Regions from separate parts of the Homo sapiens genome. Here regions 1 and 3 are each linked to region 2. The links are contacts of gene promoters, found by promoter capture Hi-C in blood cells and fetal thymus (Javierre and others, 2016). All regions are on one chromosome and are shown on one strand. Each heading gives the region's core, a stretch centred on a gene start or on the middle of the fragment in contact. The rest is flanking DNA. Distances are from core to core; before and after follow the strand shown. Region 1 overlaps IDH1 (isocitrate dehydrogenase (NADP(+)) 1). Region 2 holds the start of INO80D (INO80 complex subunit D). Region 3 overlaps LOC101927840 (a long non-coding RNA gene).

The links. The method cuts DNA at HindIII sites, captures the fragments that hold promoters and counts their contacts. A CHiCAGO score of 5 or more calls a contact.
Region 1: a fragment that was not itself captured here is called in contact with the fragment with the promoter of INO80D in region 2 in 11 of 17 cell types (non-activated CD4 T cells, neutrophils, fetal thymus and 8 more); the score reaches 11.8 in non-activated CD4 T cells.
Region 3: a fragment that was not itself captured here is called in contact with the fragment with the promoter of INO80D in region 2 in 2 of 17 cell types (naive CD8 T cells and total CD8 T cells); the score reaches 8.3 in naive CD8 T cells.

What each region holds. Positions count from the first base shown.
Region 1 is chr2:208,249,316-208,252,727 of GRCh38, reverse strand. IDH1 (isocitrate dehydrogenase (NADP(+)) 1) reads left to right here. Exons shown (of 10, transcript NM_005896.4): 3 at 1,161-1,298. The coding sequence starts at 1,177. Among named protein-coding and RNA genes, the nearest start is that of IDH1, 4.0 kb to the left of the region's middle. The HindIII fragment of the contact is 3,792 bases long and covers 1-3,179 here.
Region 2 is chr2:206,084,751-206,087,837 of GRCh38, reverse strand. INO80D (INO80 complex subunit D) reads left to right here and starts at 1,664. Exons shown (of 11, transcript NM_017759.5): 1 at 1,664-1,937. INO80D-AS1 (INO80D antisense RNA 1) reads right to left here. Exons shown (of 2, transcript NR_186084.1): 2 at 334-1,881. RefSeq lists enhancers at 1,408-1,517, 1,528-1,577, 1,082-1,901, 1,628-1,917 and silencers at 1,968-2,177, 2,258-2,427, 2,448-2,647, 2,688-2,737, 2,639-2,933. The HindIII fragment of the contact is 4,007 bases long and covers 572-3,087 here.
Region 3 is chr2:203,933,214-203,936,140 of GRCh38, reverse strand. It overlaps LOC101927840 (a long non-coding RNA gene), which reads left to right. Exons shown (of 4, transcript XR_427213.4): 3 at 1-33. Among named protein-coding and RNA genes, the nearest start is that of ICOS, 2.1 kb to the left of the region's middle. The HindIII fragment of the contact is 1,448 bases long and covers 755-2,202 here.

The DNA.
Region 1 (3,412 bases), core at 34-2,533, 2.2 Mb before region 2:
TTTTATTTAAAGACCAAATTACTTTAGCTCAATTTTTCAAGAAAGACTATTTTAGGCTTCTTATCTAATAATTCTTTAAAGTCAATTCTCTTGACTTTTTTAGTCCTTAAGAGAATAAAAGCAATTTGCAGCTGTGTTGTTGGATTAAAAAAGAGTTTCGATTAGAGCATCATTAGAAGGAATAGATAACTTTTAGCAGGCTCAGAGCTTCTTCTGCCTCTAGGGACAAGCTGGGACAGTTTCATTTCTTCCAAAGCGTCCAACCTTGCACTTTCTGAGAATCAGATTGATTTGTATATGCTACCCCCACACCCTATCCTTAAAGTGCTGTCTTCCTAGGACAATGCACAGTTTGTCCTATCCCACTCACTAGCAGCTTACCCTTGCCTGTGAACAGCCAGAAGAAGATGACAGGGACATGCTTGGGTCCTGGGCAGTGGCCCTACTGTATAGAGATTCTTCTAATTGAGAAATCACTTTGTTGTATTTAGCCCCACATCTCCAATGTCTGTGTTATCTCTAGGAAAACAGTTCCACCAGGAATTCTTCGTCTCGCTTTTAGACTTAAAGTTTCCCTGAATATGGGTCACAGGAACCAGCTGAATCTCCTCATGGCTAGTTATTTTTATTAAATAACAAAAACAGCCTCTTAAAGGAGGAGAAATGCTAGCACTCACCATTCTGGACATCTTGAGAGCCCAGTAAAATGATGAGTTGGACTGAAGTGTTCAATAAACATGAGATTGTGGAAATAATCTCATTTCTTAAGACAAACCAGTAGTTGAGAATAATGATTGCATTATGAAGGGCACGTTATAGGGTCAGGCTCTGCCACGCTCTAGCTAGGTGGCCTTGGGAAAGCTCTTTTTTTTTTAACAAAGTAAAATGGGGAAATGATGGCCATTTTTTTGGATTGTTATGAGGGCTAGCTCAGAAACCGCGTGTGAAACATAACACAATACTTTGTTCAGAGAAGATACTCAATTCTAATGGTAAATAGAATTGCTGTTACTAGCTTTTTATTCAACTACACATAAATTGAATTGCATGAATTGTTCTTTTAGTAGTCACTACGTTGTTTATATAAACACTACGTTGTTTATATATTTCACTTTATAATGAAATAAATGACAAGGCATGTATTTTTTTTTTCTTTTTAGGTTTATTGAAGTCAAAATGTCCAAAAAAATCAGTGGCGGTTCTGTGGTAGAGATGCAAGGAGATGAAATGACACGAATCATTTGGGAATTGATTAAAGAGAAACTCATTTTTCCCTACGTGGAATTGGATCTACATAGGTAAATGAGTTACCCCTCCGTGTAGCAAACTCAGAAAGGATAATCTGGCTGGGCATGGTGGTGCACACGTGAAGTCCCAGCTACTTAGGAGGCAGAGGCAGGAGGATCCCTCAAGACCAGGAATTCAAGTCCAGCCTGGGCAACAGAGTGAGACCCCATCACTTTAAAAAAAAAAGGAAAAAAAAGGGAAGGAGAAACAGGAAAAAAAAAAAGAATATAATCTGAATTATTTTGAGGTGAAGTTAGCTTTTTTTATATAGATATAGCTGTGTTTTGTGAATAAAGTTTGTTTTAAGCCTAAATATATTCAGATGAATCTTCTAATTTTAACATACTGCTAGAAAAACTGGATTTATCATCTAAAAGTCAAGAATTATAAGGGAAAGAATGATTTTCAGATTCTTCTAACCTTCTGTTTCCTGTGAAGGTTTTATTTGTAATAAAACAGTGGCTAAGAATAGTACAATGTATTGAGAAAAGGGAAATAAGAGAGGATGTAAGAAACAGTAAACTAAATGCAGTTAACACAATTTTGTCATTTCAAACTCAATTTTCTATCACTTTACTTAGTCAATGGACCTGTTTCCTTTTCATGCCTCACCTTTTGCCCTTTTCATACAATTGTAGTGCAGAAAGAATTCATGATGTTTCTTAGTTGAACCCCTCCTTTCCAGCAAAATTCCCTTAAATCCTGTGTCCCTTTGCCCTGTGTGTAAAGTGCCTGGGGACAGATGCAAAAGTCTATGTAATTCTCTCATTTTTTTCGCTGTGTTTTTCATAAACTTGCTTCTGTTCTTTGTACCTTTAGGTAGAGATAGAATTTTTAAAAGGGTAAAGTGGCTGAAGACTGGCATAGAAAAATATTGAGCAACACGTTTCAGCCAAACTATTGGCAACTCTAAGTGTGTTTGCCTCAGCCCAGAATTAGTCATCAAAATTTGTCCTAAGGACCTGTTTGAGTGGAGACATTTAATTCACATAATGTCATTAAACATACTTTTTAATTGTTCTAAACCTAAGCTGCTGATGTCTATATTGAAATCATGATAAGATATAAATACTTGCAGAAGTCAACCAAACATAAGAAATTAGGCATAAAAACATCTTCCAACTAGGTTAAAAAAAAAAAGCATCTTAGGAACTCCTGTTTCAGGACTTTACATGACAGTAGGTGAACTGGCAGGGTTCTTTTCCTTATAATGGCTGCAACTAAAGATGCTTTGAGCCTCTTTAGTGTGGAATCATGAGGAGTTTTAAAGGGGAGTCACTATGACTAGGAGGAAAAAATTTGGTGGCTGCAGACTAGATAATTTTTGGAGGCTCAAACAAGTTTTAAATTTTTCCAAAATTCCTATTATTATCACTGACTGGTTCTTTTTCAGGAGAATGGAGCAGGTAGTTTGTTTTATGTAGGCTGGACAGTGGTCTGGGCAATTTGTTCCTTCCTTTCTTATCTTCTTAGAAATGTTAAGAAGACAAGCAAAAAATCTAATAATTTGCTGATAGATTCTCCTTATGAGAAATGGTTCCTAGGAACTTGAAAACTACTGATCATACTTCCTGTTGGAGTTGGGATTGGATCAACATTTCCTATGCAAGAAGATAACAAAGGACATGACTTTGTTAGATTTATATGAATTATCTAAAGTCGAAGCAGTTGGAAGTTATTTTTATTTGGAAATATGTCAAGATTACTATCTCTTTGTTTGCATCATGAGTTGGGTAGGAGATCTAAGAAAGGAAGATAAGGGAACCAAAAAGAAATCTAGAGGCAGGTTTTAAGAGCTGAAAAACCTTTTAAATCCTTGGAGAACAGAATAAACAAAACATTATTTTGTTTTCTTGCTTTTTAACAAACTATTGCATGCTTCAAATAAAGCTTTGCAGTCATTTTCTATGCTCCCTGGACAACTAACATTCTTTCAGCTCTGAATGACCTGCAATCTTTGTGTTGGTGTATATTAAGCTATTACTCTCTGGTATGTAGAAAACCATTGATGGATTCCTTTACTTACCCAATAAATTGTAGGCTTGTTTCCAGAGCAAACACTTGCTCAAGAATTACAGAAGGAATTAGCTGGGCATGGTGGTGCATGCCTGTAGTCCCCGCTACT
Region 2 (3,087 bases), core at 415-2,914:
GGCGGAGCTTGCAGTGAGCTGAGATCGGGCCACTGCACTCCAGCCTGGGCGAAAGAGCAAGACTCCGTCTCAAAAAAAAAAAAAAAAAAAAAAAGAAAATCCAGAATATTTAGGTAAGTACTATATTCAAAGTTATATGATAAAGATAAGGTTCAGCTAGAAACTAATAAATATCCGATATATGCATTACATGAACTCACTTTTAAATCAGGACAATTTCTAAATTTGGAAGTTATTTCTAAATGTTGTGTAATAAATTTTACAAAGAAATTAAATATTCTACTGATTCAGGGCACTAATATAACAAATTCATTCCTGCCAGGTTAGTCAACATGTGTTAGAAAAATAACTTTTAATACAAGATTTAAATCATCATCCCCAGTAGAACATACAAAGATAGTCGGTTCTTTTTCTATTATTTTTCTCTTTCTTCACAAAAATAGAAAAATGTCTCTGCAATTTATCCTCCAATAAGCGTTCTATTGGAATCGATGTAAATGGGTACCCTTTGTCCCTCTCACCTCTGTGCTAACAGCATTGTTTAACTCTGATCCCATTTATCTAGTAAGCTTTGCTCATTTAAAAAAGTAAATTCATGACATCCACTGCAATATACAAAAAGTCTATCATACAGGCTGGCAGCACATTGGAAGTTCTGAACTAACATAACTAACAAAAATAGCCACATTTCTCAATTCTGTGACACAAAAAGCAGATAGCAACATGTGTAATGCACCAAAGATCTAGCTAGAGTTTAAAGAATCTAAATAAATAAAAAAATTAAATGCCCGGATATAATTCTTAATAAGCTATTTTACCTCAAGAAAAATCTAAGGCTGTCTTTAAAATCTCTTTCCAGTTTTACTGTATCCTTTCTGTATGGGCAGCATAACAGAATTTCCAGAAACAGGGGCCGTTTTTAAATCCCCAGTGATAGCTGCCTTTATCTGCACTGTGGAAAATGACACACTGTATCATGCCTTTCTGGACAGTCCATAGGTTTTATTTACATTGCTTTGAGAAACAGACGAAAGACATGTTTTTTTACAATTGTCTTACAGCAATCTGTTCTGAGAGTAACATGTAACACAAATTTTTATATGCAATATATGAAAACATAAATATTTATATATACAATAACATAACCAGACAAATAAATGAAGTTACTATTAAGTCTCTTTAAGTATAAATTTACAAACTGACCACCAGCCACAGAACTTAGCCCTGTAATGGAGAAAAATTATTACTGGCTTAAAAAAATATTAAAATATCACTGTCACTAACATGAAAAAAATTAAAAACAGAAAATAAAAAACAATAACCACCGGAAAACCTGTGTCTTGTAAAGATTTCTTTCCATCAGAAGATGCAGAAACATTTTTCCCCCTGGAGCAAATGAAAACGTTTCTCATGCACCCCCCGTTTCTTCCCTGCTTTCTCCCCCAGGCGCGGGTGTAGACGGCCGGTGTGGACTTTTTTCCAGAGATGAGAAGTAAAAATTTGTACTTTATCGGGAGCGGGTGCACTTTTCCCCCTGGCCCCCCTTTGCTCTGCCTCCAAGATGGTAGGAAAGTTGTCGTTTCGGAGGGCAGAGGAGCAGCTCTCTGGTGTTATGTCCTCGCAGTGCCTGTAGTGGTGCTGTAGGAGGCTGCTGCCTCTTCTTGTACAGCCCCGGCAGCCCTGCCTTCTTGGCTGGAGAGTATATTCAGGGATTTCCCCTTAATAATCACCGACCCTGGGAGCACTTTTTAGTTTCCAAAATAAAAATATGATCCTCACCCCTCTTGCTTGACAGGGAAAGGCTCTCGCCGGAGCCCAGGGGGGAGCAGTAGCAGCGGCAGCCGAGCTTCCTAGTCCATTGCCAGCGCCTCTCACTCTGATCTGTCAGCCCAGCCGAGGGAACAGGGGGGAAGGAGAAAAAAAAAAGCAGCTGAAAGGTAAGCAGAGGCGGCCCCAGGCCCGGCCCACATCCCCGGGCTCCCGTAGGGCGGCGGGCTGGGCCGCGCAGGCTGGGCGGGCGGCGAGCGCGCTTACGTGAGGCCGGGGATTCGCCGGCCCACGCCAGGCCCCGGGCGGAGAATGAAAGGGTGAGTGGGGCCGGCGCCCGGGTGGTGGAGGCCGGGGGCCTGAGGGCCTCCGGGGCGCCCGCGGGCGGCGACGGCGGGCGGGCAGGGGTCCAGCCGGAGCCGGAGTGGGGCGAGCGGAGCGGCCTGCGCGGGCCAGGTGGGGGTGTGCGGCGGGAGGGGGGGGCGCCGGTAGGCCTCGGGCCGGTAGGCCCCACGGCAGCCGCGCCCTGCCCCCGCACCCCGGGCCTCCGCGCGCCCCCTCGAGTCCCCCGGGGTCTCCGGGTGGGACGGCGGCGCTGCTGGGCCGAATCCCGCGCCGGCCCGGAGGCTTTCCCGCGGGGCGGCAGGCCCGGGCTGCCGGGACAGGGGCGTCAGGGCCTAGGAGTGGGGAGTGGGGAATGGGCGCCCGGCTCCCCTTCCCCCGGGTCTCTCGCAGACGGCCCCCAGATTCCGGTAAGAGTTGAATTTATTTATCCCCCTCCTCCGCGCTCCGGACGGCCAGGCCGGGGCGGGGCGGGGCGGGCGGCCTGGCGGGCGTGGGGTCGGGTGGAGGGGCGGTGAGGAGTCAGGTGCAGCCGCGGCCCAGAAAGTTTCCTTTTAGGCCCGAACTGGGGGCCGCTGTCTCTCCGGGGAGCCCTGGTCCTAGCGCCCGGGACCCCCCAGGGCGTGGGGGAGCGCACTCGGCTATTTTGAAACTCTTTGCCAGTTCCTGTCCATTGAAGAAGGTACTCCGCCCCTGCACCCCTCGCCCGCGCCCCACCCAACTCCCCGCGAGCCCATTCGGGGCTGCTAACTCCAGCCCCTTCCCCCTAGAGCCCCCCAGGTTGGGGAGAGGGCCTTCTCTTCCGGTTTGGAAAAGTTTGCAAGGGGCTTTTCTTAGCTTTATTAGTTAGTGACTGGGTTTTTGGGGTGGGAAGGAGGAGGTAAACTCAGGTGGTGTTTCTGCCGGACAATCTTTCCCTATTGCCTTTTTTAGCCCTTACCCCACCAACTGGGGGTGTTATTTTCAGCTTGAGTACCC
Region 3 (2,927 bases), core at 229-2,728, 2.2 Mb after region 2:
AGCCTGCCGTGGTCTCCCCATCCCTGCAGGGAGGTAAAGTAGACAATAACAACAATAACAATAATAATTACATAGATAATTATATGTATATGTACTTAAATGTTTTATATGAAATAATATATCTTAATGCAAAATGTAAAAAATTAAATGTAATATATTTTATATATAAAATATACCTATTTTTATATATGAATATAGCTAATATTACATTTATATTATGTTTTATATGCATGTAAATGGTTACTGTTTGTATATATATTTACATTATAACTATAGTTTATACATACATTAACTCATTTAATCTTCTTAATCATCCCAATGGTGACCACTAATCTCCCATTTTACAGATGAGGAAAACTGAGGCACAGACAGGTAACGAACCTGGCCCAAGTCATATAGTAAGTGTCAGTGCTATGATTTAGAGAGTCTGGCTCCAGAGTCCTCACTCTTAACCGAAGCAGGTAGAACCACCAATACCAAGGCCTGCTGATCCCTCCATCCAGAAGTCTGAACGCGCTTCCAAGATGCTAGATCCAGGCTGGACTTCCCTTAGCCTGCAGAAATGACATTTAGATGAGAAGCTGAAATCAGCTGGCCAGGGAAACCAAGGTGTGAGTCCAAAAGGTCCAGGCTCTGAAACAGATTCCAGGTTTGGGGCTTTAGGCCAGCCACTAGGAATGCCAGACCACAGCCAAGGGGTCTGCAAGGTAAGGAGGAGGCTGATCCTGCAGGGATCCCCCTAGCTGCTGAAGCTTCCCCTAGCTACCTTCTGTAGGGCTCCTGGGTCTCAGCAGTGGGTGTGAAGGAAGCTGTTTGAGGGACTGAGCTAGCCTGAGAAGTAGAGCCTGGGCTGCCAGGACCCCTGGGACCTTGCTACCCCAATCTCCTCCCTTTTCACTGTACTCCCCGTAGCATCATGAGGAAAGGCTTCCAGCCCCACCGGCACTGTGCTAGAGTCCTTTCCCAGCACACAGGCAGGCAGTGGAGAACAATTGACTTCTTCCAACCTAGGTGAGGCCTAGCTCTGGAACTGAGTATGGGGAACTTTAACTTCACTTGAGAAAAGCTGTCATAAGTTCTAGAGCTCAGGGCTGTTGCACAGAGAAAAATACAAAGCAGAAACCTAATAATAAATATGCAATGAGGACATAGTGTGTGCCAGACACGGGGCTCCACGTGCATTGTCTGATCCCGTTCTCAAACAACTCAGCGAGGGAGAGTCTGTTACTTATTCTCATTTCATAGATGAGAAAACTGAGAGTTAGAGAGATTCAGTCATTTGCCCGGAGTCACAGAGCTGATGAGCAACGGAGCCTGTTCAAATCCAGACAGTGAAACTCTGGATTCCAAACTCTTAACTACCCCACCACACTCACACACTTATCCTCATTTATTTGGCTAGAAATTACTGGAAGCATTACTTTTTTTGGTCTCCTATTTTCATGGTGGAAGGATACTTAGGTCCTAGAGGAAATTCCAAGATAATTTGAATGCAAAAAAAGATGTCCTGGTCAATTGGAGGTGTAATGTTTCTACCTCAAGGGGAGAAAAGTTGCACAAGTTATGGTTAAATTCAGCTTTAGTTCAACTGGATATGTGTGGTTTTGTTTGATATGTATCTCTTTGCTTTTTCCCAACCCTCTCGCTTCTCAGTTTGTCAGACACTGGGTGGTAAATTGATCCGATAGTGGAGAAGAGCTCACTTCTATGTAAACAATGTTTTATGTCAAAGTCCTGTTTCAATGATCCTTCCCATGCCTCGCCTTCTCAAAAATCTTGGTCAAGAATACAAGTACTTGTGGTTTAAAATATTCAGAACTGCTTTCACGTGCCTGGAAAATTAACTGGGCAAAAATTTCCATTCACCTCACAGGAAGTGCTTTTAGTTTGCTTTTAATTTTTTTTCATTCCATGACTTAAGATGGTTTTGATTTGTGTATGCAGACGCCTGGGGTGAGGGTGGGGCATGGAAAGTTGGTTACATTAAAAGTGTTTTTTATTTCTTGCCTCCTGGGCACCAGAGTTCATCATGCAGCATGCTTGCTTTTCTGAAGGGCCGTAGGTGAATGTCTTTCTTTTGCTTTGCTTGCAACTTACTGAAAGCAACATTTGTCTGAGTAGAGGAGCTCAGACACCAGCATGGTTGAGTCCAAGCAATAGGGTTAGAAAGTAACCCCCAAATATCTAGGCTTCACCTAAGCTTGGTTTGCCATTCTGAAAGGGACAAGCATCAAAAGTGAGAGGTCCTTCCTAATCACAATTGCTTCAACTCCTACCTTGCCTATACTGTTGAGTGGTACCACCAACCAGCCTTCTCCCTTTTCCTGCTGATTCACCGATAAACCCCAATTACTCTACTTCCTAACTGTCTCTCAAGTATTTTTTCCTCCTCGCTTGCCAAGGTCACTGACTTAGATCAGGCCTCTGTCATTTCTATTCCCACCCTTGTCCCATTTTGGTCTGTCTTCATGCTACAACCAGAGTAATCTTTGTAAAATGTAAATAGAATTCATCTGTGTCCCCGCCCCACCCAGGATCCTCCACTGGCTTCCTCTCTTAGGTAAGGCCCACACCCCTTCAAGATTCCTTATGAAGGGCAACTCCTTCCCCAGTTCGGCCTCATCTCTTGCCACATTTGTTCTTTCTTCCTTCTGTACCAAATGTTTCCATCACGTTGAATGACATGAAGTTCTCCAAATTCCCCAAACTAACTCTTCCTTCTACTGCCAGGAGCCATCATTTTGTCTGTGCTTCCCCTCCTCACCACTCTAGCCTACCTTCTTTGGCAGATATTCCACCATTCTTCAGGCCTTTGCTTCCATACCCATCGATTCATCAAAGACATCAAACCAATGTCATTCACTCCCAACCACCCCCATAACTAGTGTCCATTTAGTGGCTTTTCTGCAACCTCCCAATGCTCCTCT